Regions from separate parts of the Homo sapiens genome. Here regions 1, 2, 4, 5, 6 and 7 are each linked to region 3. Evidence: promoter capture Hi-C in 16 types of primary human blood cells and fetal thymus (Javierre and others, 2016). All regions are on one chromosome and are shown on one strand. The core of a region is centred on a gene start or on the middle of the fragment in contact, and the rest is flanking DNA. Distances in the headings are between cores, read along the strand shown.

Region 1 (2,700 bases), core at 135-2,634, 460 kb after region 3:
ACTCAGAGGAAGGAGGAGGCCGGGGACATGGGGCAGGGCCAGCTCCTGAAGACCCTGCCCAAGATCAAGCTTCTGAGTTCCTTCCTGCAGCCAGCATCGTTTTCCAGCACCTGTGGCCCTCCCGGAACCCACTCTGGTGCAAAAGCCCTGGGCACTCAGACCAACCCTCACTCCAGGCCGGCCAGAGGCCCCGAGGAGGGGCAGTGGCCAGTGGCGAGTGCTTTCTCCTCCAGCAGCTCCGGCCTGTCGGCTCTAAGGAGGGCGGGTAAACAGCGGAGGCTCCTCCAACCACCGGAATAAATTGACCTTTAGCCGCTGTTTCCAAACAGTTGAAGGAGAAACAATTTAATCAGAACCAGGCCTGAGCTACATTAAGCTGATTCTCATTTGAGCGTATTTGCCATCAGACTGCACTCACACCTTAATCCAACTGGCACAAATTAGGCCTGAGGCCTCTTCCACTCACTAAATTTGCATGAAGGTGTCTTTGACAGGTCCAGTTCATCTCGGCAAAGAGCATTCAGGCCCACCCATGTCCAGCACCCTTGGAGGGCTCCTGGCCAGGAGAAGCGTCCTCAGGCCAGCCACGGCCAGCAAGAGCCTTCAGAGGCCAGCCTGGGGTCCGGAATTGGACCTGAAGCCAGCGGGCCCTGATCAGTGCTGGCAGGAGCCAGGTGTCTGGTCTCAGCCACCCCCACCCGGCACCCCTCATCTGCCTCATCTCCGTCTGGGGCACATCTGCAGATTTCAAGGGGCAAACCCAATTCCAGGGTTCCCCCTCCGGCCCTCACGGGCCACTGATGTGTCCCCACATGCCTGCATTTCAGCAAATAGCGTCCCTCAGAGTGGGGGCCACCATCGCCCTCCACCAAGTCTCCTAGGGGGCGGGGGACGCAGCTTATACAAGGGCAGGGTGGCAAATCTGAATTCACAAGTGGGATCCCCTGCCTCCTTCCTTGGACTCTGTATCAGCTTCCCCCTGGCTAGGGGACTCCTCTAAGCCTCCAGCTCTGATCTGAACAGGCCCACCCAGCGCCAGCACCAAAGTCCAAAGCCCTTGTCCCTACACTGGACCCCCAGGATCTGATGCCTGGTTTCGTTTCTGGCACCACCTCCCCCCACACCCCCACACTTCCCACCCCAGACCCCAGGGCCTTGCCACTTCCTGATTCTAACTCACTGTGGCCATCTCCTCCCCAAACCCACCTACAAAAGCCCAGCTCTCCCCCACCTCCTGCAGGAAGCCTTCCCGACTGCTCCCACTGCCTGGTCCCATTGCTAACTACCTTATCCACACAGGAGCCTGCCTCCTCCTCTGGATGGGGGAGAGCTCAGCAAATGTCCAGCAGTAAATGGCCCCCTCCCAGCATTGCAAGCCTCCCTTCTTGCCCAGAGCCCCCTACCTGGGCAATTGCAAACTGATCGTAGAAGGCGGAGTTGTCCACGCCCAGCTCCAAGTCGATGTCCTGGAGCTCTTCACAGCTAAAACAGCAGGACATAGGGTGGAGGGTGACCACCAGGACAGCCAGTGCGGGACATGGCTGAGCCGCTGGCCAGAGAGCCAGGAGCTTTGCCCTACAATTGTTGGGCGAGGGGGTGGGCAGCAGGGAGTCTCTGGGGACATCACGGAGGGTTAGCCTCGATGCCTCCTCCATGGAGCAGGACAGCCTTTGGGGAAGGAAACCTCCAGGCCCCTCCCTGTCCTGGCCCTGGACAGCCAGAAGACGCCAGCTCTGCCTCTGCCCTCCTGGACCCTCTGCCCCCCATGCCCCACACTCTGAGGATCACGGGGTCTCAGAGGCCAGGCCCCTCCCTGTCCTGACCCAGGACGGCCGGAAGACGCCAGCTCAGCCTCTGCTTTTCTGGACCCTCTGCCCCCCATGCCCCACACTCTGAGGGTCACAGGGTCTCAGAGGCAGGAGATGCAGGGCTGCCTCAGCCAGACAGAGATGGAGGTGGCATCCCCACCAACGCTGCCCAGAAGCTCTGCCCCCATCACGGAGGCATCTGTGGAAGCAGTGGGCATCAGAGGGCCCAGGAGTGAGCCAGGCCTGGGCTCCCGGTAGGTGTCCTGCACCCCCAACATAAAACGTGAAGCCAGGACACATTGACAGGAGCAGGGTGCCAGAAAGAGGGGGCCCAGCGGCCCCAAATCCCTGGAGGGGCTGAAGGGCTGGAAACAGTGTCTGTGAGGCCAAGGAAACTTTGCGTGTGTACCAGAGGTTGCCCACACTCTTGGGAAGCAGGTGGCCCGAGCCAGCAGGCAGAGCTGGGACAGTGCACGATGAGGCACAGGGCACAGCTCAGCACAGGAGGCCCTGCAGGGCCACACACCCAGGTGCTCCTGCTTTCCTCTGGTTTGTGCCCCAGCTACCCCAGGGTGGAGGCACGGAACAGACAGGCAGGGAGCCCCTTCAGCTCTGCTGCATCTGTTGCAGATGCTGGGGTTTCAGGTCTGGGTTTGCTTAAAGGAAGAATGTGGAAACTCTGGAGGGTTCCTGTCTTCCAGGGTTTTGGCCTGGGGCACTGCATGGTGCCCCTCAGGGCGGGGCATCCCACTGTGGGGGGCAGGCAGTCACTGTGCTCCACTCTGGGGCCCCCCACAAGCCAGATGATGCCCCTGCTAAGATCCCAGAGGGACCACCATGGCTCAAAGGCCTCCATCCCCAACCCGCCTGGGAGCTGACCCTCACCCTGCCA
Region 2 (2,720 bases), core at 152-2,651, 470 kb after region 3:
AAGGAGCAAGCCCCTTCTGTAGGCCCAGAGGCTTCCAGAAGGCATGGGAGAGCCCCAACCTCTGAGCATGTCATCACAGGTGGGGTTCCCTAGAAAGCAGGCTCTAAGGTGGAGAAGTACCCAGTGAGGTTTGTTGGAAGGATTCTGTGAGCACAGATGGGGAAGAAAAGAAAAACAGGAGAGGGCAGAGGGGCTCCTGGCCGAGACACAGTCTCAGTGGTGGCTCAGCTGACCCCAGGGTCAAGGGCCTGGGCCTTTGTAAGCACATGTTGATCAGTCACTGGAAGCAGCTGGCCTGGGACAGGGAGTGACCTGGGATGAGGCAGCATCAGAAGAGGCTGGCAGCCAGGAGCCATCGAGGGCAGCTCATATGGCAGTTTGGGGAATAAGTTCTATCCTAAAGGGGCCCACCATGGAGGCCTGAGGCCAGCATGGCAGCCTTGCCAAGGCTGAGGGTCCCATCACCTCAGGAGCTATGTTGCTCTTAGAATTTAAGCCCTGGACTGGACCCCCACCTGTCCCTGCCTCCAACCGTAGGGGATGAGACTCTCTGGACAGGCTGCCAAGCAGGCCCACTGCCCCCACACCCAGCCTTGAGTGGAGATGAGTCAAGCTCGGCTCCCATCATCTTTCTCCAGGAATTTGTAGCACCCAGCAACAGCCATCTGATCCATGGCTCTGTGATTCCTACATTGCCTCTGCCTCTCGTGCTTCTGAGATAAGGCACCAACCAGTGCAGTTCCTCCCCTACCCAATACAGCACCTGGGGCACCACGGTGAGAGGGTCCCTGACACGGCAGGGCTATCACTTCTGCACCAGCCACAGCAACAGGGACCGCAGCCAGTGACTGGCAGTGGTTAGTCTAGCCCCAAATCCCATGTGTGTCTGCCTCCTAGGACCACCCCTAGTTTAGGAGAACTGACGCTGGACCTCGAGGTTTGTAGACAGGAGGACTGAGTGTGCGGGTTCCTCTCAGGAGCAACACCTGTGAGCCACCAAGAGCAGCAGGACTGGGCCAAGGGAGAAATGCTCGGTGACACAGAAGCAATCCCCTGGGAACAGCCCCTTCAGAGCGACCCCACAGAGGAGCAGGAGCTGGACCTTTGTACCTCCACACTGACCCATCACTGGACGCAGGCTGCCTCCAAAATTAAATCCCAAAGCTTTAAAAGGCTGATAATGCCCACTCCTGGCCTGCCAAAGCTGGGGACCCCAGGGAGGAGGGAGCCCCGTGGTCTTCTGGCGGGAACTGGCACAGTCAGTAGAAGCTAAGATCGCCGCACATGCTTTGACCCAGATCCACCACTTCTGAAACACGGGGGCTCAACAGAAAAGCCTCATTTCATAAGGACATGTGTACATGAATGTTTATTACAACGGTTTGTACCAGCCAAAAATGGAAAACAACCAGAATGTTTATAAACCAGGGAGCAATTTAATACATTCTGGCACCTCCTTATAATGGAAAGTTTTGAGCTGTTAAACGGGAGTCGTTTCTGTGAGTATTGGCTTGAAGGATTATCTGTCTAGTGCTATATTTAAAAAAGCAAATTGTCAAGTCATGTGTTTGTATTACCCCATTTTATTTTTTATAGTCTTTAAAAATTTAATACTTTTGCTATTTACAAAATCTCTTTTAAAGCTTAAATAACTTTCAATTCAATGTTTTGGATATTGTGAAAGGTGATCAACCTTTTCCCCTTATATGGGTGGCAATTGTATATTGAACTTCTTTTACTTTTTAAAAATTTTAACTTTAAAATATTTTAAATTCACATATAAGTGGATTTGCTTCTGGAACTGCTCTTCCTTTTGTCTTTGGTGTATTATACAAATAGCACATTTTTTCATATGGACATTGGCGATTTATTTCATCTTTTTTGATATAATTATTTTTATTATTTTACTTTCAGTTCTGGGATACATGTGCAGAATGTGCTGGTTTGTTGCATAGGTATACATGTGCCATGGTAGTTTGCTGCACCTATCAACCTGTCATCTAGGCTTTAAGCCCCTCATGCATTAGGTATTTGTCCTAATGCTCTCCCTCCCCTTACCCCCCACCCCTCAACAGGCCCCAGTGTGTGATGTTCCCCTCCCTGTGTCCATGTGTTCTCACTGTTCAACTCCCACTTATGAGTGAGAACAGCTGGTGTTCGGTTTTGGACATGAACTCATTCTTCTTTATGGCTGCATGGTATTCCATGGTGTATATGTGCCACATTTTCTTAATCCAGTCTATCACTGATGGGCATTTGAGTTGGTTCCAAGTCTTTGCTATTGTAAATAGTGTTGCAATAAACATACGTGTGCATGTGTCTTTATAGTAGAATGATTTACAATCCTTTGGGTATACACCCAGTAATGGGATTGCTGGGTCCAATGGTATTTCTGGTTCTAGATCCCTGAGGAATCACCACACTGTCTTCCCAATGGTTGAACTAATTTACACTCCCACCAACAGTGTAAAAGTGTTCCTATTTCTCCACAGCCTCACCAGCTTGTGACTACCATCTGCACACATGAGTGAGGGGAGAGAGACCCTGTGCTCCAGCCGCTGTCACTGGGGCTAGGGGAGGACACTCCCAGCTCCCTCTGTGGAGGAGATGTCCACCTGGAACTTCAGGGGTGGTATGGCTCCCCCCACTGACCCCCAGGCTGCAGAGCTCCCTCCTATCCTTGTCCTCTGCTGCAGTACCGCCCCTACCTCAGGGATGCT
Region 3 (2,700 bases), core at 65-2,564:
CGGCCCCCCAGGCTGGGTGGAAAGCGACTGCAGGCTTACGGATCTCAGAAAGAGTGGAGAGCCCCTGCCACTTTATTCCATACCCCCTTGCGTTTTCGAACCCCTAAGGTCATCAACGACCCGGAAAGCCGGGAGGGGATCACCCACCCCACTTTCTGGGGAGTGCGTGCGTGGGCGGGGAGGCTTATCCAAGTAAAAGGGGGTGGGCAAAACGGAAAGGGTCACTTTGACGTACTGAGTCTCTGCGAAGGCCTCACCGTATGTGCCGGCAGCCGCGTGTCCTGGTCTCCGCCGGGTCACGACCTTCGGAGTTTCCGAGTGCGCCTCAGGCCTGGGACGCGCGGCGCTGTCTCCCCAGTCTCGGAGCCGTGTGCGCAGCGGCCGGCAGGGGGCACTCGCGTCACGGGGAGCCCGCCCGCCGCGCCCGCCTGGCTTGACCCGGGCTTTGGGGCTGACCCGGAGCCTGGCCCGGAGCTGCCTGCGGCCGCGGATGCCGGCGACATTTGGGGCCCGGCTAGGCACAGAGCAACTGGTCGCCAGGGAAGGGCGGGGGGGCGGCCTCCCAGCCGGAGACAAACAAGCAATTAATTCCGGAGCTGAGTTCCCATCTGCCAGGCCTGCTGACAACAGGTCCGGCGCACGCCCGCAGGACCTCCCGCTTCCCGGGCGGCACGGCGCGCACACCCACTTGCGGGCACACGCGCGGCTGTAAAGACACGTGCCGTTCGCAGACGCGCCGAGGCACAGATACGCCGGCGCGGTCGCTGCCCGGCTCGAGGCGCACACCGCGGCGACACTAACCCACGCGCGACAGTTAGACCTAAAGTGGCCCGCGACACGCAGAGTACGCTGGGCTTGCTGGAAAGGCGCCTGGGAGTCTCGGGGCCGGGGTCCCGCCCCTTCCTCGGCCCACCTCGCCGTGGGCCTTGGGCAAGAGCGTCCCCTCCGCAGCCTCAGTTTTCCCGCCTGTAGAGGGAGGGGCGTCGGCGCCTCCTGGGAGACGCGCAGCCCTGGTGTCCCGGGAGAGGGGCGGGAGGCGCATGCGCGCGCGCAACTAGATCCTCGCCGCCGCCCCCAGCGCCCCTCCCCGGGGCAGGGACTCACCTAACAGGTTGGGGTCCTTGGAGTGCGCGGGGCCGCGTGGGGAAGCGGGGACCCTACCCCCCCCACGCGCCGCCCAGCACTGGGCAAGGGCGGGGCACTCTCTGGGCTCCCGCCCCTCGCCGCCCGCCCCGGGAGCCCGAGCCCCGCCCTTCCCCGGCCCCGCCCTCGCCTCCCGAGCGCGCCCACCGGAGCCACCGCGCTCCTCGCGACACTCGCAGGCTCTGCGAACTTCCGAGCGGCTGGGCCGGGCCATGGGGGCGCCTCGGGGCCGGATCACGTAGCCGCGGCGCCCCCGGAGAGCCAGCGTGGCCGGGAGCGCCTGCCGGGCTCTTCCCGCGCCCCGGCCATGGTCGGCCGCGGCGTCCCTCTGTGCGCTGCGCAGCCCGCGGTACGCGCGGCCCGGCCTGGAGAGGGAGGCGGGCGGCGGGGGCCCGGGACGGCGAAGATACTCGCGGTGTGCGCTGGATCCCTGGGGGCCGGGCCTCCTGCTGAGGGTAGCGGACCCGCAGGCGGGACCTCCGGGGATGGAGGGAGTGGGTGAGCGCCAGGGTCGTGCCCAGGGCTCCTAACTTTGGCAAGAGCGTCACGCTGGGGCAGGGCGCGCAGGGGTCTGGATCCGACGGACGTCCCAGGCTCACTGTCCGCTTCCGCCCCCACACCCTGCAGGTGGCCGAGGGCGGCCCGGCCCGCGAGCCGCCGCCGCTGCTGGAGGTGTCCCCCCGAAAGAGGCTACCCGCCGGGCCCGACCAGGACCCATGCGGCAGCCGCCCTGCTCCCGAAGGCGCCGGGGCCGGCCCAGAGCAGGGCCACTCGGCCGGCGGAGGCGGCTGGTGCCGCCACTGCCACACGAAGCTGGTGGAGCTCAAGCGACAGGCGTGGAAGCTGGTCAGCGGGCCCGGGACCACCCTCCGGGTAAGTGACACTTCCTTAGGCCGACCCCTCCGAGCAGGGCCACGCCGAACTTGGGTAGAACTTGGGGCTTGGAGGGAAGCAGGGTTCCACTCCTTCCCTGCTGCTGTTTCCACAAAGAGTTATCAGCCAGGACTTCCCTTCTGCGGGCCTCAGTTTCCCGGTCTGTAACACCATGTGTGAGCTAGGGAGCTCAGCCCGAGGGGCCCTGCTGCCTCGGATGGGAGGGGCCTGGGCTGGCGTTCCTCCCCCAGCCCAGATGTCCCACAGCTGGAACGCAGGTTTGTGTGGGAGGAGGAGGGGAGAGAGCGGATGGCAGGGACTCCACCCAGGGCGGGACAGCTCCAGCCCTACCAGCAGGGAGAGGTTATTTGGTGCATTGTGGCCCTTGGGGCACCTGGGCCCCCAGCCAGGTGTCTGGAAATTACATACCTGGGGCCGGGGGGCCTGGCAGGTGAAAGGGTGGGCCACAGCAGCTGGGGGGTCCCTGCCTACTCCTCTCCCAGCCTCAAGGATAAGAACTGTTGTCCCATACCTCCTGGGATAGACTGAGGCAGTGGCCGCCCATGGGGAATTGAGTCGGGGCCCTCTGGGTTCCCCAGGCTCCAGCCCCAGGGGCAGGTGCTTGCAGGGGAGGGGTTCTCCTGGATTTCCAGCCAGTGGGCCTGCCGGCTTTGGAGGGAGCAG
Region 4 (2,791 bases), core at 194-2,693, 440 kb after region 3:
ACCCACAGCCCTCCCCCCATACCTCCTGGTCCTCGAGCCTATGCTTCCCACAGGCTCCTACCTGGTCATCCAGGCCAGCTGCCATGGCCCAGGAGCCTGCATCCATCCTTCCCTCAGCCACAGTGACACCCAAGGCGGTGCTCACAGCTCATCCCTGCCCTCAGGGCCACCCGAGGGGTCACCAGTGCCACAGCCAGTCATGTTATGTTGCACTGACTTCCCCAGCCAAATGCCTGGGGACCGGGGCTAGAGTTTTTCCTCCATTGTCCATTAATCATGGCTACCATTGTTGCATGGGTTCCTGGAGGTCTGGACCACCTGCCATGTGACGTACTAAGCATGACGTCACGAATGTAGCTGATCAGCATCATTTTCCGCAGACCAGGAGTGTCCCAGAGCACTGGATTGCAAGAGTAGCAAGAAAGTGCCAGTGGCTGGAGCACTGCTGTCTCTCACAGGCAGCTGGGTGGGCCCCTCTCTACTGAGGTGGTTGAGAAGGACACACTTGCTAGACACACCGCACACACCCAGGGCCAGAGGATGTGGTGACTCGGTTCAGTCGAGGTATCGCATCCGGCGGCGCATTTTCCATGTGGGCTGACTCTGCGTTGGGTTGGGTTCATCCATCACCATCGGCCATGATGCTGCTGGTTTTTGTGGACCATATGGGTGAACAGAGTGGGAACAGTGGGGACAGTGGGACTGACCATCCCTGTATCTTTTGAGTCTTTGGGGATGGTCCTAATTTCTGCAGATGCTCAGGATGTGTGGAATGACTCTCTTGGCCAGGGTCTTAGAAGCTTCCACTTGTTCGTTTGGGTTTTTTTCCTGCCAAAATGGCTCATAATCATTAGGTCAAGGAACCAATGGGCAGGCTCTGCCAACTGCAGAGTACAGGCAGCCCCTTCCCTTAGGCACGAGAGGCTGAGGGTCCCAGGGTCACTGCAGGGCGGGCTTGCCTCCAGGTCTCCGGGAGCCCTTACTCTACCCACAGCGGGGTTCTGGGTCCCCTGATATCACTGCCAGCTCAGAGCCCGTACCCACAGCTCTCAAAAGATCAGGAGAGTCTCCTGCCCAGCACATAGTTTCTGTGGGCCCTGGACACTGACTTCTGCCCTTTCAGGCCAGCTGCTCCTGACACGGTGGAAAGATCAGGAGAAGCTGCCCTCCCCAGTGGGCCGGAGGGCTCCAGGCGGCAACAGGGAGGGCAGCACCAGTGACGGGCACACCTGGGCTGAGGGAACTTTGGGCACCCAGGCTCTGGGCCACTCAGCCACTGCCAGGTGGGCACCCGCGTGAACCAGAACTGTGTGCCTGCCCGGCCAGCCCAACCTTGCCGCTTTCACAAGGAGGCACACAGTAGCCCCTCAGAACCTGCCACGGCCCTGCAAGGAGAGGATTCCCCTGGGGCAGGAGGTAGTAGCTCTCGGCCAGGCACTGACTGCCCAAGGTGGCAGGCCCAGGACAGGGTGTGGGTGGGGCCCTCCCTCCCCCGGTTCTGGTGCCAAGCTCTTCCCAGTGTCCTGTGCCTGTGCCCCATGTCCCAGCAGCTGTGTGCAGGGGAGTCATGACCAAGGGCGGCACCCAGTCCCCTGGATCTGAGCCCACTCCGTAAGCTGCCGCCTCACAGCCCGGCAAGGAGCTTCCCCCTACAGAGCCCCTGTCCTTATCTGCCAATGAGGCCAGGCCTGGGGCTCAGGAGGCGGTGGGGAGGGAAGAGGAGCTAAGCCCTGTGAGGAGCTAAGCCGTTGCACACAAGTATGCATTCTGCCCATCTAGCGCTTGGAGAGCATGGTTAATGGAAAGACCCAACTCCGTAGAACACGGAGCTTTCTTCTGAGCCAATATGAGTGACCGCGGCCCAGGAAAAAGTGCACACACCCAGGGAGCCCTGAGTGGGGGGTCCTGAGGCAGCCAGACACCAGCTCTGCTTCCCACCCACCTTAGTGTGACGGAATTGCAGGCAGTCATAGTTCAAGGAGCTTCTACATCGGTTCAGCCCAGAAAGGCAGGGTGTCTTGAAGCAGGGGGCTGACAGGTCGTCAGCGGGGCCAGAGATTATTTCATTTGCAATTAGTTAAAGAAGTAAAGCTTTGTCTATAAATGTGCAGTCATCAGAAAGGAATGTTTTCGGTGAAGATTAAGAAGTCTTTTAACCGATACACCAGGTCACAGTGGCGTGTGGGGTGCATGACTTGACCCTGGGCTGGCGGCCTTCGGTCCTGTTTATAATTCGAGTCTTAGGGTCACAGTCCTCTGATCACTAGGTTAACGTCACTACTGGTCAGCCCTGCCTGAACTCCCGCAGGGAAGGGGGAGAGCGAGGCACGTCTGCCCTCCTGTCCCATCATGACTGGGAACTCAGTTGTTCCGGTTTCTCTGGAGTCCCTTTGGCCAAGAGGAGCCTGTTCAGTCGGTTGGGGCCTTAGGGTTTTATTTTTATTTTACAGCACGTAGCACTTTTGCACACGGACAGCGTGGCCCTCACAGTTCGGCGCACATGTCCACAGATGTGTGGCTTGCCTGCGCCACAGAGAATGCACGCTTCTGGTGTGAGAATGAGGCTGTGTGTGACGTGTGAATGCTCGGCCCCGGCCGGCCGCAGCCAGGTCCCTGCGGTGGGTCCTCAGGCCCGGAGACCAGGGATGGCGCCCACAGTGGGAACCTGGGCTGACCGGCTGCCCCCGGGGCCCACGCCTGCAGTCGCCCCACTGAAGCCCAGACAGACCCCCACACGGCCTCGCCTCAGAGCCCAGAACCTTCAGCAGGTCAGGCGGGGTGGTGGAAGGAT
Region 5 (2,700 bases), core at 79-2,578, 380 kb after region 3:
GCGAGGGAAAGCAGGGACACACATAACCATGGCACCTTGATCACCAAGGTCTTTGGTGGCAGCTAATTAATCACAGGGTCTCAAGGACAAAAGTGGTGGGCAGCCTACTAGGGTATTCTTTGGTCTAAATAACAGGAGAACCCCAGGTGTGCCAGCCAAACCCCCGACCTGAGTCACCGCAGTGGCCAGTCGCAGCCTCTCACCCATTTGCACACCCAACTCAATGCACAATCCAATGACCTGTGATTTGCAGCCCATGCTGGAAATACTCCTCCACGCCTTTCCCAAAGGGATGTACGACCATTCATGGGAGTAACTGTGAGCTGGAGAATGGAACTTTGCAGGGCTCTGAATTGATGCTAATCCTTGGGAACCCAAAACACGAGCACAGCCCATCAGTCACATGGGAACATACAGTGGTCAGGTCATGGATGGAACCCCCATTAGCTCACCTCTCACAGGGTAGGCTGTCCACGGACCCACAGTCTGGTTGTATCCCCAGTTCCTGAATGTATAATTGGAATAGACATACTGCCAACTAGCGGGATCCCCAGCATGGTTCCCTGAGCCCTGGAGTGAGGGCATTTGTGGTAGAGGAACTAGATGGAAAACGCTGGGACTTCCTTTCCTATCCATAAGAGAACCAGAATCAATATCACATTCCCGGGGAAACTGCAGAGATTAACGCCATCATCAAGGCTTGAAAGAAACAGAAGTGATCATTGCACACACACACACACACACATTTAATTCGGCTGTCAAGCCTGTGTAAAAGTTGGGTGAACCTTGGAGAATGACCGTGCACTGATGTAAACTGAAGCAGGTGGTGAATCCAGGTGCACCTGTTGTCCCACATGTATTATCTTTACTGTAGAAAATGGCATGGCCCCTAGCCCTTGTTATTCAGCTCTTGACCTCACCAATGTCTTCTCTGTACCAGTTTGGAAAGATCACCAGAGCAGTTTGGTTTTCTCACCTGGCCGGGCCAACAGTGCCCTTTCACAGTCTTGCTTCTGGGTCATGCCAGTTCTCCCACCTGCAGTGATAAGAAGCAGAGATTTTCCCACCTACAAAGCATCACGCTGGTCCTCTACACTCATGACATTACACTGAGCTGACTGTGTCTGATGAGCAGGAAGTGAAAATAACTTTAAATGCCTTAGTAAGACACACACTAACTAGAAGGTAGGAAATAAACCCCACAAAACATCAGAGGCCTGCCCATCAGTGAAGTCTCCAGGGCCCAGAGGTGTGGCGTATGTCAAGCTCCTTCCTCCAGGATGAATACAAGATGCTGCACCTCACGCCATCTTTGTGAGTGTGCTCCATGGTCATGGTCTTCTGGGTTCTGTGGACCACACTGAGGGGCCAATTGTGCGGATATTGGCTGCTGTTTTGAAGATCGTCTGCCTCTTCCAGCTACTTTCAGGATTTTTCCATCTTCTGTTTTCCACATTTTAATAGACAGTTTTGTTGGTTCACTCTGTCACTCTTACCTGGGTCTATAGAGTCCCTGGGGGCTGCAGCCTGGCCACTGTGGCAGCGGCATAGAATTGGAACCCACTGTCTGTCGCTCCCAGGACTGCCCATTCATCAGTGTGGGCAGAGTGGGAGCCATCTAAGGAGGTTGTGCAGGGAGAGTCAGAAGTGAAAGCATCTCAGGGAAGGTTTCCCGAGCTGGGTCAGCACCACGCCTTGCCAGGATGCTGGGGCCACACAAAACTGAGCATCTGCTCAGCCTCAGAGGTGGACAGGGGCCTTCTGCTTCATCTCCTTAGAGCAGTTCAGGCCTCTCCCCATCAGCTCTACAAGGTCCCAGGCCACAGGCCTGGCTTCCTTATCCTCTCCCTGGCTGCAGATGCAGGCCCCCTCAGGGTACCTTCCCAGCAGCCATCCTGGTCCTGGAGATCAGGCTTGGAGCCTGGTTTCCTGACCTCCCATGGCCCTTTTCCCCTGTGGCCTCCAGGCCCCTTCCTCTCTTAGGATGGGAGCCCTGCTGCCACAAGTATGGCTCAGTGATAACATCCTGCCAAGGCCTCTGGGGTAAAGTCACAGGCCTGCAGTGTGCTGGCCTCCCTCACAGGCCTGCGCTCCCCCAAGGACTCGAGCGGGAACCCCTCCTGCTTCCTCCAGCTTCTGGGGGCTCCAGCATTCCTGGGCTTGTGGAGGCCTCCCTCCAACTCCGTCTCTGTCTCAATGTGGGCTTCTTCTGCCTCTGTGTGCCTCCTCCATGTTCTCTTACAAGGACATTTGCCATTGGATTTGGGGCCTGCCGGGTCAGCCAGGATGTTCTCATCCCAAGCACAGGAAGCCAGGAGGACAGTCCTGCTCAGAGCCCTGAGGCCCAGCTTGGGGACGGCAGCAGCCTCCACTAGAGGATGGGGTCTGTGGCTGTGGGTGGTGTGGGGACCCCCGGCCCTCAGTGCTGCTGCCTTCCAACCAGTCTCCTCCCACGCAGACCCGCACCATCTCACCCCCACTGCATGGGCCTTCCCTGAACATCAGCCATCCTGGGACCTGGGGCTCTTCTTCCAGGATAACAGCAACATCCGGATTGTGGCCATGGAGCTGGGGCAGACACAAAGGTCACTGGAGAGGCCATCACTGGACAAGAGACCCAGAGCCCTCTGAGGCCCAGCACTCATCCACCTGATGAGCTCTGAGCCCGGTTTGTTCAGCTGGCTGCCCTCAGACAGGAGG
Region 6 (2,904 bases), core at 376-2,875, 490 kb after region 3:
ACTGCAGAACATCATGACAAGGAGAATATATTAAGAGTAAACAGCAGGCCGGGCACGGTGGCTCATGCCTGTAATCCCAGCACTTTGGGAGCCCGAGGCGGGTGGATCACGAGGTCAGGAGATCGAGACCACCCTGGCTAACATGGTGAAACCCCGTCTCTACTAAAAATACAAAAAAAATTAGCCAGGCGTGGTAGCAGGCATCTGTAGTCCCAGCTACTCGGGAGGCTGAGGCAGGACAATGGCGTGAACTCGGGAGGTGGAGGTGGAGGTGGCAGTGAGCCGAGATTGCACCACTGCACTCCAGCCTGGGCAACAGAGTGAGACTCTGTCTAAAGAAAAAAAAAAAAAAAAAAAAAAAACAGAGTAAACAGCAAAAACCAGAAGTATTGGTTTGCTAGGCCTGCCATAACAAAATACCACAGACTGGGAGGCTTAAACAACAGAAATTCCTTTTCTCAGTCCTGGAGGCTGGAAGTCCAAGCTCAAGCTGTCGGTGTTGGCAGGTTTGGTTTGTGCTGAGGCCTCTCTCCTTGCCTGGCGGATAGCCACCTTCCCAGTATGCTCTTCCATGGCCTTTCCTCCGTGTGTCTCTACCTCTTCTTATAAGGACACCAGTCAGATTGGATTAGGATCCCCCTCAGTGGCCTCGTTTTTAACTTAATTACCTTTTATAGACCTTATCCAAACACGATTACATTCTGAGGTACTGGGGATTGGGATGTCATCCTGGGGAGTGGGGCACAATTTAGCCCATATTGGCAGATAACCTACAAGGGAACTATAATTCAGCTGACTTCTTAACAACAACAATAGAAGCCAGAACAGAGTGAGGAAATGTCTTCACCATGCTGAGAGAAAGTATGTGTCAACCTGGAATTTTATACCCAACAACATTGCCAGTCAGGGTGGCAACTATATTTTTTAAAACACTTTCAACAAACAAAAATTAAAAATTGAACAATCACATTCCTTCACTGAAAGAATTCCTAAAGGATATTTTTCAGAGAGAAACAAATTAAATCCAAAGGAAGGAGTGAGAGTCAAGAAGTAGTGGTGGGGTGCTAGGCATGGTGGCTCACACCTGCAATCCCAGCACTTTGGGAGGCCAAGGCCAGTGGATCACCTGAAGTCAAAAGTTCAAGACCGGCCTGGGCACCATGGTGAAACCATGTCTCTACTAAAAATACAAAAATTATCCAGGCATGGTGGTGGGAGCCTGTAATCCCATCTACTCAAGAGGCTGAGGCACGAGAATCGCTTGAACCCAGGAGGCGGAGGTTGAAATGAGCTGAGATCGTGCCATTGCACTTCAGCCTGGGTGACAGAGTGAGACTCTGCCTCAAAAAAGAAAAAAAAAGTAGTGGTGAGGAGAAAATATAAAATATGTAAGTAAATCCAAATGAGATTAATCGTTATTAAATGATGATAAGGACAAATTTTGTGATATGAAAACAAGAAATAAGATGAAACTAAAATAACAGTTCAGAAAAACACATACAGAATAGTATAATTACCATTCAAATATTCCAACGTCCTTTTAATATTCTAGAGGATTGTATAGATTTTGATTGCGTTTAGACTTTAAGCCAAGTATGCATGTATCTACTAAAAATAAAAACAGAATTTGGAAAGAAAAAGGAAGAAGGAAAAAAATGCCTCAGCCCCACAGAAAACAGAAAACGAGGGAGAAAGAAGCCAAGGAAAATCACAAGAAATAAAAATCACAAAATAAAATTGCAGAAGTGAATCCAAATGTGTCAATAAATATGAATAAACTGAACTTGCAAGTTAAAATAGAGCTTCGACAAAACCAAATCCAGCTATACGCTTTCCTAAGAGATGCAAAATACAGAAACACCAACAATTTAGGTTTCAAGAAGAAATTTTAAAAATTAGCAAATACTTTATTCTCTTTAAGTTTATGAAGTTATATTAATACCAAACAAAATAAATGTCAAGTAAAAAAGCATTAGTAAAGATTCAGAGATTACCGTAGAATGACAAACATAGCTCAAATATATAAATAAAAAAGGTTCAGATTACAATGAAAAATTGACAAGTTGACATCAGAGTGGAAGATTTTCCACTTCACAACTGAAAATCATAAAAACTAATAAGGATCAGAAAGAAGAGAAAAGCACAGTGAAGCAGCACAGTCTAAGGAGATGCAGCTGAAGTAATGCTGGGAAGGGAAATATGTAACCTAAAACTGCACATATTGTAATATAATAGATAGTTAAAATTCTTGAGTTAAGAATCTAAATCAAGAAACACGAAACCAGCCACACCACAAACCCAAGAAAGGAATGGAACCATAAATGTATGTGCAGAAATGAATGGAACAGAGAACAAAAATCGCTAAGAATGACTGGCCAAAACTAGATTTTTTTTTCTTTTTTTTCGAGGCAGAGTCTCACTCTGTTGCCCAGGCTGGAGTGCAGTGGCATGATCTCGGCTCACTGCAACCTCCACCTCCCGGGTTCAAGCAATTCTCCCACCTCAGCCTCCCGAGTAGCCGAGACTACAGGTGCGCGCCACTACGCCTGGCTGATTTTTGTATTTTTAGTAGAGACGGGGTTTCACCACGTTGCCCAGGCTGGTCTTGAACTCCTGACCTCAGGTGATCCACTGGCCTCGGCCTCCCAAAGTGCTGGGATTACAGGTGTGAGCCACCGAGCCCAGCCAAATCTAGATTTTTGAGAAGCAAAATGGTAAAATAGACTAACCTGTCTGTAAGTACTGTTTTAGCTGAACCCCACAAGTTTTGATAAGTAGTTATTATGCAAATCTAAACATTTTCTAATTTCTTTTATGATTTTGTCTTTGAAAATGAATTATTTATACGTGTGTTTTTCATTTGACAACTATGGATTTTGTTACTACCTTTTGTTACTGATTTCC
Region 7 (2,874 bases), core at 138-2,637, 400 kb after region 3:
GTTTCCAGCATTGGACTCATGTCTTTCCAGTTCAGGAACCTCAAAGAGAAGGAAGTCTATAAACCACATCCTGCCTTTCATTTTTGGACTCTTTTCTGTTCCATTGACCTATTTGTCTATCTTCATAGCGATAAGACATTATTTTTATTAATGTAGGTTTATAATAAGTTGAAATTGGATAGTATTAATTCTACAACTTTCTTTTTTTCTCCAAGTTGTCTTGCCTATTACAAGTTCTTTGCATTTCCATATGAATATTAGAATCAACTTATTAATTCTTACAAAAATGCCTAATGGGATTTTGATTGGGATTGAAATGAATCTATACATCAGTCCAGGGAGAATTGACATCTTAACAATTTTCAGTCTTCTGATGTATAAATATAGTATAACCATTCATTTATTTAGATCTTTTTTAGTTTCTTTCAGCAAAGCATTGCAGTGGGTTTTTTGTTTTGTTTTGTTTTCTGTTTTTGTTTTTGTTTTTGTTTTGAAATGGAGTTTCGCTTTTGTTGCCCAGGCTGGAGTGCAATGGCCCAGTCTCAGCTCATTGCAACCTCCACCTCCCGGGTTCAAGCAATTCTCCTATCTCAGCCTCCAAAGCAGCTGGGATTACAGGCTTCCGCCACCATGCCTGGTTAATTTTTGCATTTTTCGTAGAGATGGGGTTTCCCCATGTTGGTGAGGCTGGTCTCAAACTCCTGACCTCAGGCAACCTGCCCGCCTCAGCCTCCCAAAGTGCTGGGATTACAGGCGTGAGCCACTACGCCCAGCCAGCATTGCAGTTTTTAGTGTACAGGTCTCTCATATATCTTGTCAGATTTATCTCAAAATATTTATTTTATATGTTTATATTATAAATGGGTTTGTTTTGTTTTGTTTTGTTTTGTTTTTTTGAGAGAGAGAGTCTCACTCTATAGCCCGGGCTGGAGTGCAGTGGCTAATCTCAGCTCACTGCAAGCTTCACCTCCCGAGTTCACGCCATTCTCCTGCCTCAGCCTCCCAAGTAGCTGAGACTACAGGCGCCCACCACCATGCCCAGCAAATTTTTTGTATTTTTAGTAGAGACGGAGTTTCACCGTGTTAGCCAGGATGGTCTCGATTTCCTGACCTCGTGATCCACCCACCTTGGCCTCCCAAAGTGCTGGGATTACAGGCGTGAGCCACCGCACCTGGCCTATACATGGTATTTTTAATTTTTATTTTCTGATTGTTTGCTAATAGCACATGGCAAACAATAGATTTTTGTTGATTGATCTTGTATCCTTTCACTTTGCTGAACTCGCTTTTTTTTTTTTTTTTTTTTGAGACGGAGTCCCGCTCTTTAGCCCAGGCCGGATTGCAGTGGCACAATCTTGGCTCACTGCAAGCTCCGCCTCCCAGGTTCACGCCATTCTCCTGCCTCAACCTCCCGAGTAGCTGGGACTACAGGCGCCTGCCACCGCGCCCGGCTAATTTTTTGTATTTTTAGTAGAGACGGGGTTTCACTGTGTTAGCCAAGATGGTCTCGATCTCCTGACCTTGTGATCCGCCCGCCTCGGCCTCCCAAAGTGCTGGGATTACAGGCGTGAGCCACCGCGCCCAGCCAGAACTCGCTTATTAATTAAAATATTTTTAAGGATTCCATTACACTTTGTATATAGATGATGATGTTGTCTGCAAGTAAAAACAGCTTTATTGCTCCCTTTCCAGTATGGACGCCCTTTATTTCTTTTTCTTGCCGTATTGCACAGACTAGAACCTGTACAATATTGAGTAGAAGTGATGAAAGAGAACACCCTTGTCTTGTTCCCAGTCTTAGGGAAAGAGCATTGAAGCTTTTACATTAAGCGTCACGTTCACTGTAGGGTTTTTACAGATGCCTTTTGTCAGATTCAGAAAGTTTCCTGCTATTCCTACTTTGTTGAGAGTTTTTATTATTAAAGTATATTGAATTTTTTATGTTTCTGCATTTTTGGCTTCGTCATATGATTTTTCATGGTTTTATTAATATGATAAATTACATTGATTGATTTTCTGATATTAAGCTATACCTGCATTCCTGACTTAAATCCCACTTGGTTGTACTGTCTTTCTTTAACTAAACTATTGTTAGGTTCATTTTGTTAAAATGTGTTTAGAATATTTTCACCTATGTTCATGAGGGATATTTGCTGTAATTTTCTTTTATTTTAATGTCTTGGTTTTGGTATCATAGTATGATGGCCTCCTGGAAGGAGTATTCCCTCCTCTTCAGTTTTCTGAAAATGTTTGTGTGGATTTGGTATCATTTCTTCCATAAATGTTTGGCATAATTTGCTAGTGAAGCCATCTAGGTGTGAGGTTTTCTTTGGGGAAGAATTTAACAGTAAATTCAACTTTTGGAATAGATATAGGGCCAAATTATCTGTTTCTTAAGTCAACTCTGGTAGTTTGTATCTTTTGAGTAATTTGTTCATTTTATTTAAGTTGTCAAATACACTGGTATAAAGTCCATAATATGTGCCTTTACCATCCTTTTAATATTTGCAAAATAAATTTGCAGTGATGTCACCTTTCTCCTTCCTGATACTGGTAACTTGTGTCTTCTCTTCTTTTTTCTTGATGAATATAGCCACAGGTTTATCAACTTTATTAAGCTTCTGAATAACTAGCTTCTGGTTTCATTGATTTTCTCTATTATTATTGCATTTTATTATTTTCTACTTCATTGATTTCTACTCTGATCTTTATTGTTTTCTTTTTCTGCTCCTCAAATTTAAGTTGCTCTTCTTTTTCTGGCCTTTAAGGCGCAAGATGAGACCATTGATTGAAGTTCTTTCTTTTTTCATAATGGAAGCATTTTTAAGGCTAAAAATTTCCCTCTAAGTACTGCTCTAATGGCATCCCACAAAT

What was found. The method cuts DNA at HindIII sites, captures the fragments that hold promoters and counts their contacts. A CHiCAGO score of 5 or more calls a contact.
Region 1: a fragment that was not itself captured here is called in contact with the fragment with the promoter of KIF26A in region 3 in 3 of 17 cell types (endothelial precursors, M0 macrophages and M1 macrophages); the score reaches 8.4 in endothelial precursors.
Region 2: a contact is called between a fragment that was not itself captured here and the fragment with the promoter of KIF26A in region 3, in 8 of 17 cell types (M2 macrophages, M1 macrophages, naive CD4 T cells and 5 more). The highest score is 9.2, in M2 macrophages.
Region 4: a fragment that was not itself captured here is called in contact with the fragment with the promoter of KIF26A in region 3 in 14 of 17 cell types (naive CD4 T cells, endothelial precursors, naive CD8 T cells and 11 more); the score reaches 34.1 in naive CD4 T cells.
Region 5: a contact is called between a fragment that was not itself captured here and the fragment with the promoter of KIF26A in region 3, in 8 of 17 cell types (total CD8 T cells, naive CD4 T cells, non-activated CD4 T cells and 5 more). The highest score is 10.2, in total CD8 T cells.
Region 6: a contact is called between a fragment that was not itself captured here and the fragment with the promoter of KIF26A in region 3, in 14 of 17 cell types (M1 macrophages, M2 macrophages, M0 macrophages and 11 more). The highest score is 23.5, in M1 macrophages.
Region 7: a contact is called between a fragment that was not itself captured here and the fragment with the promoter of KIF26A in region 3, in 11 of 17 cell types (naive CD8 T cells, naive CD4 T cells, total CD4 T cells and 8 more). The highest score is 16.9, in naive CD8 T cells.

The regions. Positions count from the first base shown.
Region 1 is chr14:104,593,762-104,596,461 of GRCh38, forward strand. It overlaps TMEM179 (transmembrane protein 179), which reads right to left. Exons shown (of 4, transcript NM_001286389.2): 3 at 1,404-1,482. Among named protein-coding and RNA genes, the nearest start is that of TMEM179, 9.7 kb to the right of the region's middle. The HindIII fragment of the contact is 2,635 bases long and covers 68-2,700 here.
Region 2 is chr14:104,610,683-104,613,402 of GRCh38, forward strand. No RefSeq gene overlaps it. Among named protein-coding and RNA genes, the nearest start is that of TMEM179, 7.3 kb to the left of the region's middle. The HindIII fragment of the contact is 479 bases long and covers 1,163-1,641 here.
Region 3 is chr14:104,137,273-104,139,972 of GRCh38, forward strand. It overlaps KIF26A (kinesin family member 26A), which reads left to right and starts at 1,315. Exons shown (of 15, transcript NM_015656.2): 1 at 1,315-1,492; 2 at 1,771-2,016. The coding sequence starts at 1,451. KIF26A-DT (KIF26A divergent transcript) reads right to left here and starts at 1,357. Exons shown (of 3, transcript NR_158217.1): 1 at 258-1,357. RefSeq lists an enhancer at 1-617 and a silencer at 314-483. The HindIII fragment of the contact is 14,398 bases long and covers 1-2,700 here.
Region 4 is chr14:104,572,519-104,575,309 of GRCh38, forward strand. No RefSeq gene overlaps it. Among named protein-coding and RNA genes, the nearest start is that of C14orf180, 5.8 kb to the right of the region's middle. The HindIII fragment of the contact is 1,291 bases long and covers 799-2,089 here.
Region 5 is chr14:104,520,733-104,523,432 of GRCh38, forward strand. No RefSeq gene overlaps it. Among named protein-coding and RNA genes, the nearest start is that of C14orf180, 58 kb to the right of the region's middle. The HindIII fragment of the contact is 3,221 bases long and covers 1-2,700 here.
Region 6 is chr14:104,628,560-104,631,463 of GRCh38, forward strand. No RefSeq gene overlaps it. Among named protein-coding and RNA genes, the nearest start is that of TMEM179, 25 kb to the left of the region's middle. The HindIII fragment of the contact is 4,545 bases long and covers 1-2,904 here.
Region 7 is chr14:104,537,900-104,540,773 of GRCh38, forward strand. The region is part of intron 1 of LOC124903395 (a long non-coding RNA gene); the gene reads right to left. Among named protein-coding and RNA genes, the nearest start is that of C14orf180, 40 kb to the right of the region's middle. The HindIII fragment of the contact is 856 bases long and covers 960-1,815 here.